Linked DNA regions of Homo sapiens: region 1 is linked to region 2. Evidence: promoter capture Hi-C in human tissues and cell types (Jung and others, 2019). All regions are on one chromosome and are shown on one strand. Each heading gives the region's core, a stretch centred on a gene start or on the middle of the fragment in contact. The rest is flanking DNA. Distances are from core to core; before and after follow the strand shown.

What was found. The method cuts DNA at HindIII sites, captures the fragments that hold promoters and counts their contacts. A contact is called where the count stands out against the background at its distance.
Region 1: a fragment that was not itself captured here is called in contact with the fragment with the promoter of HEYL in region 2 in 1 of the 25 tissues and cell types used here (lymphoblastoid cells).

What each region holds. Positions count from the first base shown.
Region 1 is chr1:39,083,990-39,091,410 of GRCh38, reverse strand. It overlaps a transcript of MACF1 not described here. Among named protein-coding and RNA genes, the nearest start is that of NDUFS5, 61 kb to the right of the region's middle. The HindIII fragment of the contact is 4,796 bases long and covers 2,856-7,421 here.
Region 2 is chr1:39,633,882-39,641,045 of GRCh38, reverse strand. It overlaps HEYL (hes related family bHLH transcription factor with YRPW motif like), which reads left to right and starts at 1,403. Exons shown (of 5, transcript NM_014571.4): 1 at 1,403-1,500. The coding sequence starts at 1,421. RefSeq lists silencers at 1,047-1,436, 1,557-1,626. The HindIII fragment of the contact is 11,489 bases long and covers 1-3,618 here.

The DNA.
Region 1 (7,421 bases), core at 4,004-6,503, 550 kb after region 2:
CTTGCTCCCCCATTTTAACTGTAAGAAACTGAGGCTCAATGAAGTGACTAACGTCCCAGGGTCACCCAATTAGCAAGTGAGCAATGAAACTAGGGCTCCAGCTGACTCCCAAAGCCAGCCCTTTGCGTGAATGAATGGAAGAGTGAGCACATGAAGAAATGTGTGAATGAGTGGGGGAGGGCATCCCAGAGACATCCACTGAGGCCCCAGGCAGAATCCTCCCCTGACCACAAGGCAAAAGCCTGGTATCTTCTGGGGTAGGGGTGGGGCACAGCTTAAGACAGAAGCTTCAGCTCATAATCATCACCCTTCAAGTTATAGGGGCTTCAGACCTTCCCTGTAGCAGTATCCCAGATCCAGGCAGAGATTCCAGCAAGGGACACCTATTCTGCTCCTACAGGAAAGCCAAGACAGGGCTTTCAGGCTGGCAGGCTTGTAACTGACATGTGGCAACAAGCAGTGGCCGGGCCAAATCATGGCAGGCCCTAGCCACAGCAACCAGAAAAAGGAGGCCAGCCAGGCTCCATATAACACTTTAGTGATGATGGATCTGTTCACAGACCTTTCCTCAAGGGGAGGACTGCTGAAATAAAGAACAAGTGCAGCCCTAGATCCTGCTGCAGTGTCAGCTACTCTGGTGGCATCTAACCCCTGAGCCCATGAGACTGAGAAATGATGGCCTTCCACAGTCCCCAAAGTAACCAGTCCTTCCTCTGCATTCCTACCTTCAGCCTAGGCTTCTCCCATAACAAACAGAAAGGCATGAGCCAAACTGCCATTCCATACCTTTCTCTATGTCACCTAGGATGTCATTAGAAAAGCATGATGGCATTAAGATGGCATTACACCTTGCAATCCAGAAACCACCTTCCCTCACCAACTGGGGTCCCACAGGGGCCCTGCACCTCAGAGAAAGGACAGATTGGCTGTCTTTTCTGCTGCCTGCACAGAATTCTGCCCACGTGGTCATGTTCCAGCCCACAGCTAATGTGACCCAGATTTACTTTCAAAGAGCTGGAGCTGAGCTGGTGGTGTGTAGCTACAATTCATTCTGCCCCACTTTCAGGGCACTCTCCTCTGCTCTTCTCTGCTGCTACTGAAACCAAGCTCCAGGACAGGGCCAGAGACTCTGAGGACACTGCCAGGAAGAAGTAGAGAAGCTGGGAAGGAGGAGGAGCCTTCCTGGATACAAAACTCGAAGAGCCTCAGGGCAAGGAAGTTTGGCAGCTGAGGAGTAAGGATTCCCAATGAGATTGTCTTTAGGGTTCCATTTCCCATCCCTGCATTCCCTTCTTCCCACTCACGGCTTGGCCAGAATAAGCCACTTCCATCTGCTCCCTGACAAAGGCCTAAAGAACAAAAGAAGGGGACAGAAATAAGAGGCTTGGGCTCCTTCTTTGCTGGCCTGGGAAACTGCTGGCCTCCTGAGTCTCCACTGCCTCATCTGGCTGCCAGGGAGGTTACAAGGAATGACACTGTTAAGTGCAGTAACGGGCCATGTGAACCTGTGTTTTTCCAGCACATTCTGATTCTCGTTCATTTCCCTTTTACACCCTTTATCACCATCTCCCTTTTATAGATAAGGAAACTGAGGATCCAAGAAGTGAGGTCATTTGCCTAAGTCTTGTAACTCCAGATTCAGTTATCTCCGCAGTGCCTGGCACATGGCAGGAGCTTAATCCATTTTTTTTATTGAATGAATGAATGAAGCAGAGAGGTGCCTGTGAGATGTCTTCTCAGAGCTCCCAACTTGGAGGAGAGACACATGGGCCCAGAGGAGTAAGCTCCAGCTTCTGACCAGGTAGTGCTCTCATGGCTCTCTGTCCCAGGGCAAAAAGGGTAAGATGGGACTCCTGACTACAGAGACCTCCAGAGCTGGTGAGGGAAATGAACCTGGGAACAATGAACGTGAATATAAAGCCAACTGAAACAAGGGCTGTGCAGAGAGACAATTGTCGTCTGACTAGAAGGCCACAATGGAGCAGATGTTGGGAATGATTATTTCAGCAGCATTTGCTGATACTCCTAGGAATGAATCCCATAGATGCTTTCTACTGGCACATAGCTTAACCCCTTTTTTAGTTGAAGGAATGAATAAATGAACAACCAGAGAGGGATCCAATCCTTAGCTCTGAGTCACTGCACTCCCCTTTTTCACAACACATACGGGGATATAATTATTTTTTCCCTTCTAACTACTTAAAAAAAAAATAGAGACAGGGTCTCATAGGCTGGTCTTGAACTCCTTAGCTCTAATGATTCTCCTGCCTCGGCCTCCCGAAATGCTGAGATTACAGGTGTGAGCCACTACACCCGGCCTTTTCTCCCTTCTGTCCTCTCCACTAGACTGAGTTCCATGCAGAAGGGACCACATCTTCAGTCATCTTTGAATATCAATGCCAAGGACAGGGAGGGTCCTGATTATGTGATGTTAGATGAATGAATACCTGATTGATGGGTAGATGGTGGAATCTTCCTGCACCCTACCGTGCCCTAGCCCAAACATGAGCCCTTCTTCAAAACATGTTACTGCCATCTGCAGGAAACTTGTAATAATAAATGTACACGTCTGCAATGACAACAAATGTGATGTGAATCGCACCCCCAAGGGTTGTGCAGTGTACAGCCATGTGACACCCTGTCTTGCACCCTGTTCTCAATATACTCCCCACAGGTCCCAAGGGATACATCATTTCTTCCTCTCTTTGTTTCTACCCTTTGGGGTTGTACTCCTTGCTACAGTAAGCTCCCTAGCGCCCCACTTCCTTGTTGCTCCCCACCATTAAGTAAGGATATTTCTACTGCTCTTCACTAAAGACAGAGAGCCAGAGGGGAAGAGGCAAATTTTCCAAGATCTTTGTCTCTCCCCTTTCCTGGTTCTATAGACCAGGATCCTGAGGCCTTTCCCGGAAGTGACCAAGTCTCTCAGGTGAGTGTGGAGATTTAGATTGTCAACTACAGAAGATTCAGACTGGGCTGGTTGCCAGGTATTGCCTAAGGAAATAGAAATAACAATGTACAGGGCCGGGTGCGGTGGCTCACGCCTGTAATCCCAGCATTTTGGAAGGCCAAGGCAAGCGGATCACCTGAGGTCAGGAGTTCAAGACCAGCCTGACCAACATGGTGAAACCCCATCTCGGGCCAGGCGCGGTGGCTCACACCTATAATCCCAGGACTTTGGGAGGCTGAGGCGGGCGGATCACGAGGTCAGGAGATGGAGACCATCCTGGCTAACATGGTGAAACCCCGTCTCTACTAAAAATACAAAAAATTAGCCGGGCAAGGTGGCAGGCGCCTGTAGTCCCAGCTGCTCAGGAGGCTGAGGCAGGAGAATGGCGTGAAACCAGGGGGCGGAGCCTGCAGTGAGCTGAGATCCAGCAGAGATTGCACCACTGCACTCCAGCCTGGGCGACAGCGAGACTCCATCTCCAAAAAAAAAAAGAAACCCCATCTCTACTAAACATACAAAAATTAGCTGGGCATGGTGGCACACGCCTGTAATCCCTGCTACTCGGGAGGCTGAGGCAGAAGAATTGCTTGAACCCGGGAGGTGAAGGTTGCAGTGAGTTGAGATTGCGCCACTGCACTCCAGCCTGGGTGGCAAAGTGAGACTCTGTCTCAAAAAAAAAAAGAAATAGCAATGTACTTGGAGTTAGAAGATCTGTGTTTACCAGTCCTGTGTAACTATAGGCAAGTCCCCTAAACCCTCTGAGCCTCGGATGCTAACATATGTCCTGCCTAACAGAGTTATTTTGAAATCTCTGTGTAAACCATAAAGCTGATAAACCGAAACAAGACACTTTCATTAGTGACTCTTGTTACATTTGAATGTGGCTGGGCTTAGGGAGTTGAGAATATGGCTGGCAAAGAAGAAGGAGAAACAAATGTAGGGAAAGGATGAGAACAGGAAGATGGGAAGAAGAACAAGGTTCAGCACCCTAAAACCTGTTTGGCTTTGTAGACTGAAATCAGCAGGTTTCTCAGCCCCGACATCCCTCTCTACTCTGACATGTGTGACCACCAGGCTTGCCCCATCAGGCCTCTCAAGCAAGGGCGAGGCCCTAAGACCAGCTCAGGACACGGAGTGGGCCAGGGAAAGGGAAGATCTCTATTTGGTGAGAGTGATTCAGACACCCCCACTTGGCTTCATAAGCAAGATCCAGGGGGAGGAGAAAATTGCACAGGCCACAGCTGGCTTCCAGCGTAAGACTGACTTCATTTCCTCCCACAATTAAAGTTCTGCTTCAGAGAGCTTCAGAGCATCCAGGGTCTCCCAGACATGCCCCCCTGCACCTCCTGTGAAGGAGTCCCTGCAGAGCTAAGGCTGCCTTTTCCATTACTCTGGTGGAGCCCCCACAGCATTCTAAAATCACATGAAGATTTCAGCAAGACCCTAAAGTCGCAGTCCCGCCTCGTCTCTGCTGCCTCTCTCCTCTCCTGCTAAAGAAACACGCCCAACTGCAGTGCACAAGTTATTTTTAACCATGGCAGTCTCCCCATTTTCAGCCTCACTGGCCCAGCCCCCTCCTCAAAAGAGGCATTCAGCAGTGTCAGGATGCAAAGGAGATCAGCATCTATGCCAGAAACACAGCACAGCGCAGCACCCACCATCCCTTTGCTCAGTTGACCCAGCAGGGTCCTTAGGAGCCTTGCCTGTGTAAAATTAAGCCTCCTTGAGTCCACTCCACTTCTATTCTAGACTCCAAATCTGAAGCAGCAAGCAAATCATCCCGTGGGCCTCCTCAGAGAAGACTGGAAGTGGAAATCATCACAAAACGATCTAAGTATGCATGAGTGATGAAGGATGGAGGCAGAGGGCATAAAGAAGGAAGAATGAGACAGCCCACTCTCTCTTCAGGAGAAAGAGGTTTATGAGTCATCAGGGCCCTGAGTTATGGCCCTTCAAGACTGGGGACAAGTAAACCCCTTCCTGCACCCTAGGGACAGCTCTAAAATTCTGTTACTGGCTGATGCTGCAGGCCCAAAGGTTTTGAGAAGGACTTCCTCCAAGGACTCCTCGTTGCCCACTAGAAAGAGCTCCAACTCTCCCTCCTGCCTTCCAGGCCCCACTGTTGTCTCCTCACTTGGAGCTCATTCCCTCTAAAGTCCTTTCCTGATTACCTGAGCCCACATAAGCCTTTCTCTAACTTTCCGTTATAGCTCAGTGCCTGTTTCTGGATCACAGTCTGTCACATCACATAATATCCTCAAAACACTCATTCAGCATTCATTCAGTCATTCAATACCAATTGATCTCTAGCATGTACAAGGCCCCGTGCAGCCCTCGGGGGCTCAAAACATAAGACACATCCCAAATTGCTCACTCTTCTAAGGGAGTGATGGGCACCCTGTGGGTTAACTGCTACATTGAACAAGGGAACATGGAGGAGAGAAAAGTATGACTGTGAGAGCGGAGGAGGAAGCTTTGGATACCACTGGGGGCATTAAGGACAGAGGAGGCGGCACTTAAAAGAGGAGGAGGGTTTACCAGCATCTTGCAGAGAAGAAAATTAAAGTGTGGTGGTTTCATCCTGCAAGATGCATCCCTCTGGGGGTCCAGTTACAGTGTACTGTGGCAGGGTGATTGGGGGTAGAGGTGGTGGCAGGTGAAGCTGAAGAGGTAAGTAATTTTGATGGGTCTTTATGCTGAAGCCTTGATTCCACAGGCAATGAGGGGCCAAAGGTGGTTTTTAAGCAGCCGAGTAATAGAATTAGGTTTGTATTTTATTTTATTTTTTATTGTATTTTTAATGAAGTGTTGTACAGGCAGCACTTCATTTCATAAAATAGAATATGTGTTCTTGAGGTTTGTATTTTAGAAAAAAATACTCTATTAGTCACGTGGAGGATGGTGGCAAGACTAAGAGAGGAAGAGCTATTAAATGCTCATTGGAAGGTCCAGGTGAGAGATGACACAGTGGAGGGGGTGGCTGTATTATTTGAGGGACACAAAGAAGGTAGCAGTACAGGCCTTGGTGACGGCTTGAAAGCGGGTGATGTCACTGAATTAGCTGCAGGCACTGCTCTATCTTCCTATCCGTACTGTAACACCAACACCCTGCTGAGATGCTGAGCACACTTCAGGGAGGCAGCTGTGGATGCCTTCAGTGGAAGCATCTCCTTTATTGAGCCAAAAACTGTGCTAAGGGCTTTCCACACATTATTTCATCTAACCTTCAAGGCATCCCTGCACAGTGGGCATTCTTAAGACAAGGAAAGTGACACTGAGAAAGAATAAGGGACTTGCCCAGAGTCACACAGTTGGTCAGTGGCAGGGCCACGATCCAGCACCCTACCCTCTCTGATTCCAAAGCTTACACTCATAACTACAGCACTGTGCTGCTGCTTGGCAAAGAGCTGGGCACATCCCACCACAGGAGGTAGCCCCAGCCTTCACGTCGTGTGAAAGGTCAGCATGTAGAACACTTTTGGAAGGCGATACAAGTAAAACTGTACTCTCCAAGGATTTCATTATAAGGAAATAACAGAAGTCAAATCATTCTTAACCATGTTCTCAGCAGCATTGTCTAATATAGCCAAAAAGTGAAAAAAGAGTAGGATTTAGAAAGTCATGAAATAGACAGCTTTTAGAAATGGTAACCATAAAGTCTAAAGTGCAATATGGAAAATCTTTTTAATATAAGATTAACTGAAAAGAGTCAGATGCAGAATGGTACCTAAGCCATGAAGGCAACTGCATAGAAAATATAACTGAATGGGGACAAAGACAGGGAAGAAGGTGCAGAAATGAAAACAGGTCTCACGTGAGCAAGGGGTGGCAGATTTTCCTCTTTTGAGTTTTTCGTTAATGTTATTTCAACGTCTTTCCAAGAATAATAATAACAAATCAGATGATGGCTGCTTTGTCAGAGGCCCTGGTGAGGACCCCTCGGCTCCCCACACAGCTGCTGTGCCCTGGCCCATTCCTCCCTCACACCCACAGCGTCCAGCCTGCTGGGGGACCTCTCTTACCAGCGACTCTGACCACAGCACGCTCTGCAGGGTCCAGCACCGAATCCTGGCTTTTCCGCTTTTTCTGCTCATGCAGTGGCAGGTTCCAGGGCAAGGTGTCCCCTGGGGGACAGGGAGACAGGCTCCCCGACCGCTCGCTCCTGTAAGATCGCTCACTCCGACAAGACCGCTCACTCCGACATGACCGCTCACTGAGCGTCTCTTCATCTGAGGAAGACATGGCCCAGGCGGGGGCTGCTGCAGGAGGGCCTGGGAGCCCAGGGAGAAGTGATCTGAAGGAGAAAGGGGTGAATGTGAGCAGACAAAAGGGGTCCCATAAGGAACACTGGGACTTGGGAAGCAGAGGTTCTAGTCCTGCCTATCTGTACCTCAGTTTCTTCACCTGGAAAATGGGATGAAGACAATACATCCCAAAACTAATTCATGAGGTTTGGGGGATATTATATGTG
Region 2 (7,164 bases), core at 154-2,653:
AGTGCTGAGGGCATTTGGAATGAGAGTCCATAGTTGTGGCTGGGGCGACCACCAGGGCTTCCTGGTACTGATTGCTCACGACAGTTGCGCCTACCAGTATATATTTGTAAGTCTGTCCGTGTGTATGTGTTTGCATACCTGGCCAAATGGTTGTGTCTGTGGATGTGTGTGGACGGGGGCACAGGAACATTCTTTCCCATCAAGTAATCAAGTGTCCCCCAGCAAGCAGGCCTTGCTGTGGGGATGGAAGCACAGTTATTCTCAGATGACCAACCCGATTCTCCCACTTGAAGGGGTGGCTTCCCTCAGGTCCTGACCTGGTGGCGGGTAAAAAGGAAAAGACCTCTCATATCTAACCCAGCACACCAAGACCTCCTCTATCTCCTCTTCCCTGCCCAAGAAGTCCAGCTCCAGGATGCTCTCATGCAGCTTCCTTTGGAGCCTTAGGAGCTTCTCTGAGGTACTGGGCGCCTGAGGATGACCGGTGAATCTGAGAACTTCCCACAAGTCCCCCTAAGGACAGGGCAGCTAGAGCCCTCCCTGAGTGAACAGTTTGATGGGTTGCCAGAAGCAGAGGCCCCAGGAAGAGAGGCTGGAAGGTATCTTCCCTTTTCCTCTCCTTCTCCCACTTTGAGGCCCTGCCATAGCGTCTAGAAGGAGCCCTTTCCTGGCCTCCTGGCCGCCCAGGACAACTCGACCTCTGGTGAACTGGGAACTGATTCCCAGGGACAACCCACCACTGCCACCACGCCAGGCCTTTAGGGACCTCGGCCAGAGCCCAGCTTTCTCAGATGCGGTGGCCACAACTTCAGCCGTCCCTTTTGGGGGTGACTGCCACCTCTCAGAAGTGTAAGTGTCTTCCCCTTGCCCCCACCACACTATTCCACTTGCTTTGGGCCCCTATGGAGTTGCTGCTGGGGAATTCTTGCTGAGGATCAGGCCACAACCACCACGACTAACTTCGACAAACTTGATGTGTCTGCTGCCTCCAGAACACCAGGAGGCAGGAGCGCGCAGGGTTGACCCTTGCGGAATCCCGGGCATCGAAGCGGCGCCTCTACAGGCCAGCAGCGCCCAGGCGACCCAGGGACAGACGGGGACTCCTGGCTTCCCCGCGGGGCCTCCCAGGGCACCTGCCCAAGGCCACCCAGCGCGCGGCAGCCGAGACAGCGGAGCAGAGCCGGACCTCCCAGCCGTCGATGAAGGCGGCGACCGCCTAGGGCCTTCCCACGGCTCGGCGGCGCGTCACCGCGGGGGCGAGGGGGCGCCTGGGCGCCCGGAGCTGCGGCGCAGGAAAGGGCCCTGGGAAAGGGCGGTGGCGGCGCCCCCGAGGCGGGGCCGGGGCGGGGCCGGGGCGGGGCCTGACTTCCCGACTGGGAGCCTTAGCCGCGGGGCTGAGACCAGGCAGCCTGCGTTCGCCATGAAGCGACCCAAGGAGCCGAGCGGCTCCGACGGGGAGTCCGACGGACCCATCGACGTGGGCCAAGAGGGCCAGCTGAGGTAAGGGCCGGGATGCGGGGACCGAGCAGGCGGAGGGCGAGCGGGGTGGGGGTCGGCCCGACGGGCTCGCCGAGCAGGCGGGCCAGCCCTCCAGCACCGCCTGGGCAGAGGCAGGTGAGCGCGGGGGCCACAGGTGTCGGCGTAGGGGGCGTGTGCGGGCCGTGCCGTTACACGCACGAGTGCCTGGATCCTGCGCGCTCTCGGTCGTGCAGGGCTGGGGATGCTGGCAGGGAGGGAGAGTTCAGCTCGGGGGATCAGGTGGCTAGTGGGTTATCATCTATCTGTTGAAGTGGCCTAGGGGAGGCCATTGGCAGGTTTTCCCTGGAGATCTTAGAAAACTCTCATAGACTGATGGTACTCTGGCCCCTGTCTGGAATCTGCTGACGATGCAGAGTAACCCCATCCTTTCCCAATTTTACCCTAGTTTGGATGCAGTTTTCATGTAGTCCACAAATTATTTCAGGAAGAAGAAAATTTGTCCTCCTTTGAGCAAATTGGAGTTTGGATTTAGGGACTTAGTATTGAAGAAAATAATAAGCGACTTGCAAGGGCCTAGACTCTAATTCCAATGTTCCTCCTATCGTGCCCCCATACTGCCAGTGTCTTTCAGCTCCTGGTAGATAGTCTGACCTGCTTCAAACCTGTCGAACAAACTGCGCTTGTATAGTTCTGCTACCTCGCAGTTCTGTAAACTGTCTAAGCTTCAGTTTCCTTATCTGTTAAATGAGCATGAATAATAGAACCAACTTCATGGAAATATTGGGAAAACCAAATGAGGCAAAGTATGTCAAGGGCTTAGCACAGCACATGCCTAGGTACACACCATGTGATTCCCAGCACCCTGAAAGAGCTGCAGGGCTGACTGGGAGTCTGCAGACCTGGGTCCCAGCCCCAAATCTGCCACCAACTCACTATGTGGTCTTGGGCCATTGGTTTCCCTGACAGAGTCTGTCATCAGTTTCCCCATCAGTAAAACAAAGACAGCAGTGGAAAAGAAAGGGATATACTTCATCTCTCTTGGCTCATCTAGACTTGACTCTCTAGAACAGAATTGGAGGGGAATTCAGTTAATTCTTTCTTTCTTTCTTTTTGACATGGTCTCACTCTGTTGCCCATGCTGGAGTGCAGTGGCATGATCATAGCTCATGGCAACCTTGATCTCCTGGGCTTAAGTGATCCTCCTGCCTTGGCCTCCCAAAGTGTTGGGATTACAGACATAAGCCAGTGAGCCAGGCCCAGTTAATTCTTAGGGATGTTTTTGAGGACATTTTGTAATTTTAGTGCTCTCCAGTTTTCTGAGATCCAAGGATCCTGCCTCAGTCTCAAATCCCAGGAAAATGCCATAATAGATATTCCTCTTGCAGCCTGTACATTTGTTTTTAGGGAGTATAACACAACTCGCTATGCAACGTATTAGCCTTTCTTAATTGTTTAGCAGAAACTGCTATTTAGAAAAGCAGTTATCTTAGCCTGTGCCTGTTAAGGGCCAGGAAAGGGCACAGCACCACGTGGTGGTGGTGGAGCGGGGTCTCAAATTCAATGGCATTGGGTCTTCATAGATCAGAGGCACAAAATTGATGCCAGAGAACTAGGTTGATCAGAGCTGGCTTCTGTCCTCCACAAGTTTGCAGCCCAGTCAGTGACCTGCCAGGTCATAAAAACACCATGGACAGGATGGAAAGGAGACAGACTGTGGGCTGTGAGGGCACTTAAGCAAAGAGAGGTCACTCTTAATCAAAGATGGCAAGGAGGGCTTCTTGAAGATAGTAGCATCTGGGCAACTGCTTACATGAGGCATAAAGGATCAGTGGGCAGTTTTTTCCTATACATACAGCATTTCCTATATATACAGAGCCCATTTTTAGACACTGTTCTTAGAGGAGCAGACCCCTCTGAGGAGAGAAAGCAGCTGGACATCTGGCAGAGGCTGACTTATAGATGCCCCTTTGTAGCACTCACCAAAGGGCCCTTCCCCCAGCAGACATCAATGCTTCAATTCAGGGAGCACTGAACGATGCCTGCTGTGGCCCAGACCCTGGGCTGGGCATAGGGGGCCCAGATGTATCCTGCTCAGCCTCTGCCCTCAGGGAACTCTCAGGGAAGAAGAGCTTCATGTACAAAGAAAGCAGATAAACACTGACAAAGGCCGCAGGACGGAGGCAGCCAGCCTCTCGGGGTCAGGGGCAGGGCGCAAAACCCCCACACTCAGAAACGTGAGAGTAAAGAGCAGGGTGTGTTCCACCATCACTGTGGCATCTGCCTGGTGGCAGTCCTGCCACATCTGTGAAACTCACCCACAGAGCTCTCATCTCAACCTGGCCCCATGACGCAGGATGAGTCCAAACTGAGAGTACAGCCTCTCCTCTCCCTCTGCAAACATCTAATGAGCACCTGCCACATGTCAGACACTGGATCAGGGTCCTGTTCCTGCACAATATAAGGTGGTGGTCTTGGAGTCAGATAGACCTGAGTTTGAATTTTACCACCATTAACTTTGGCCAGTGACTTTTACCCCTTTCTGAACCTCAGTTTTCTCGCGTTCAAAATGGGAATACATTAGCACTCCTGCCTCGCAGGATAAGGTTTGATGAAGTAACATACATAAAGTTACATAGCTCCCTGCTTTGGCACAAAGTAACTTCCAATAAACGTTGCTGTCAAAGCGGTCACCATTCAGTTGGGGGGCAACATATTTATGAGACAGCATGGTCTAATGAAAAGACCGGAAGTGTGAAGACTGGACTTACTGGAGTGATTCTTAACTCCAGTGTCTCTGTCACTCCACCTGTAAAATGATTATTTTTCCTAAATGTGAAATGGCCCAAAAAATACTTCACTTACAGTGCTATTGTGCAATAAATTAGACAAATGGATGTGGAAGTGCAGTATAGAACAAAAAGCACTGGCTCTGAGATCTACATGACGGGATGATGTATATATGGGGTGCACTGGCAAAAGCCCCAGATTAAAAGCCACTAGAGGCCGGGCACGGTGGCTCACGCCTGTAATCCCAGCACTTTGGGAGGCTGAGGTGGGTGGATCACGAGGTCAAGAGATCGAGACCATCCTGGCTAATATGGTGAAACCCCATCTCTACTAAAAATACAAAAAATTAGCTGGGCATGGTGACACGTGCCTGTAGTCCCAGTTACTTGGAAGGCTGAGACAGGAGAATCACTTGAACCTGGGAGGCGGAGGTTGCAGTGAGCTGAGATTGTGCCACTGCACTCCAGCCTGGGTGACAGAGTAAGACTCTGTCTCAAAAAAGAAAAGAAAAAAAAAAAAAAGCTACTAGAGTAGACCTGGCTGTAGTTCCGATTTTCCTCTAATTTGCTGTGTGGCCTGGGGAAGATCCCTTCCCCTCTGAGTTTCCTTATTTTACAAATGGACTCAGTTCTCTCTGAGATTCCTTCATTTGGGACATTGTGATTCTGCCTTTGGCTGACACAAAATGATTAGGGTCATCTGCAAGGGTTCCACGGGGGAGTTCCCAGGGGAAGTCAGCACTGAGGGTGGTCAGGACCACCTGGAAAGCTTCCCCCCATAAGAGACCGCCCCAGAATTCTGGCTAGGAGCCACTAGAGGCCTATGGAGCAGATCTTGATGGTCAACATATCTTCTCTGGGTCCATGAAAATCTGTGTCATTTTCAGATTCTCAGACAAGAGAATCCCACACCTCATCCCACTGTCAGGGCCAGATCGCGGGCTGGAAGGGAGCTCTGGCTGGGCTCTTGGGAACTTTAAAAATAAGGGGACCGGAGGGCTATTCAGACAGACAGGAAGTAGGAATTAGAAGGGAAAAAATGCTGAAGCGGAGCCAGAAGATGCGGATTCCCTGCTGGCTTTGCTCCTTAGCAGCTGGGTAGGCTGGGCAACCTGCTTTAGCTCCCTGAAGCTCAGCAACCTCATCTGTAATATGGGCTTTTGTAAGGCTCAAAGGAGGGAAAGACATATAATGTTGCCAAGAAAACTGTAATGTGAGGTTTGCCTCTGAGATATGGGAAGAGGAGAAGGGGGGAAATAATACGACAGGGACAAGCTGACCAGGAGATTGGAAAAAGGAATGGCAGCACTGCTTTGCCCTGAAATGGGTGCGTCAGCCTCCAACAGATGGTCCCAGCGGAGGGATCAGGCTGAGAGGCAGTGACGTGTGCAAGGCTAACCTAATACCCGGAAAGACGCTTTATCAAGCTGGGGGGAACAAAGGCCGTGTTTCTTAGTGTGTCTTGGCTCTTGGGGTTTGTCCCCAGTGAACCAGTGAGGCTTTGTAAACAAGCTGCCCCATAGATCTCAAGATCTGGCCTTACAAGCCCTGGACCTAGCTTGCTGGGTCCTCCCTCCCAGGAGCTATTATAGACCTCTTACCAGGTCGGCTTGTCCAGATGTTTGGGTGGGAGATATCCTTTTCCAGATGTGTCTGGACAAAGCCAGAGACATAGCAGTAGGATTTGACAAATGCTATCTGGTCTCTTCTGCAACCTTCTCTGAGCAGTTGATGAAAATGATCCAAATTCAAATGCCAAAAGGGTTGGGACCCTTGGGCTGGGACCCTTGTGTTAAGTCATATACGCCCCCATTCCACAAAGTCCTAGGCCATAGATTTTATGGTGCTTACATCTCTGTTCCCCAGTGATGCCAAAGACATGGGTGAGAGAAGAAAGCTCTACCATGAGTTCTGCTGTATTCCAAGCCCTTGCTGAGTACTGAAGCTGCAATAGTGAATGTAACAGACATGGTTCATGGCCTCATGGAGCTTATGGATTTGTTGGAGAGATAGACATCAATCAAATAACCATATAAATATAAAACAATGAACTGGCATAAATGCTGTGAAAGCAGGGTGCTAGGAGAGTATTGAGCAGGGGACACTAGTGGGAGGAGGAATGTTAGAAAAGGCTCCCCAGGGAGGTGCCATCTGAGTTGAGATCTGATGGGTTGTAGAAGTTATGGGGCAAAGGGACTGGGGCTTGGGGTGATGGGTGAACCAAAGATGGTGGACCTAGGCTAGGGGACAGTGCATGCAACTGAATGAAGGAGTTGGTGCATTCATAGGCTGGGGCATACAGAAGAAGACGGTTGAGTCTAGAGGGGTTGACAGGGGCCAGTTGGACCACCTGAAAGATGGTGGCCTTGATCTTAAAAAACATTGGGGCCAGCCATGGTGGCTCATGCCTGTAATCCCAGCACTTTGGGAGGCCAAGGCGGGCAGATCACCTGAGGTCAGGAGTTCAAGACCATCCTGGCCAACATGGTGAAACCCCGTCTCTACTAAAAATACAAAAATTAGCTGGACGTGGTGGTGGGTGCCTGTAATCCCAGCTATTTCGGAGGCTGAGGCAGGAGAATTACTTGAACCGGGTGGCGGAGGTTGTAGTGAGCCAAGATCATGCCAGTGCACTCCAGCCTGGGCAACAGAGTGAGACTACATCTAAAAAAAACCCAAAACAAACAAACAAAAGTTGGGGAGCCACTGAGGAGTTTTAAGTGAGTGATATGATCAGATTTCAATGATCACTCTGCCTGCAGTGTGGAGATAGGCTTGTAGAGAGTAAAAGAGGGTGTAAAAGGACCCAACAAGAAGCTCTTGCAGTCACCCAGATGAAAGATGATAAAGGCGTAGCATTGAGAGAAGTGGCGGAGAGGAAGAGGACAGACGTGAGATA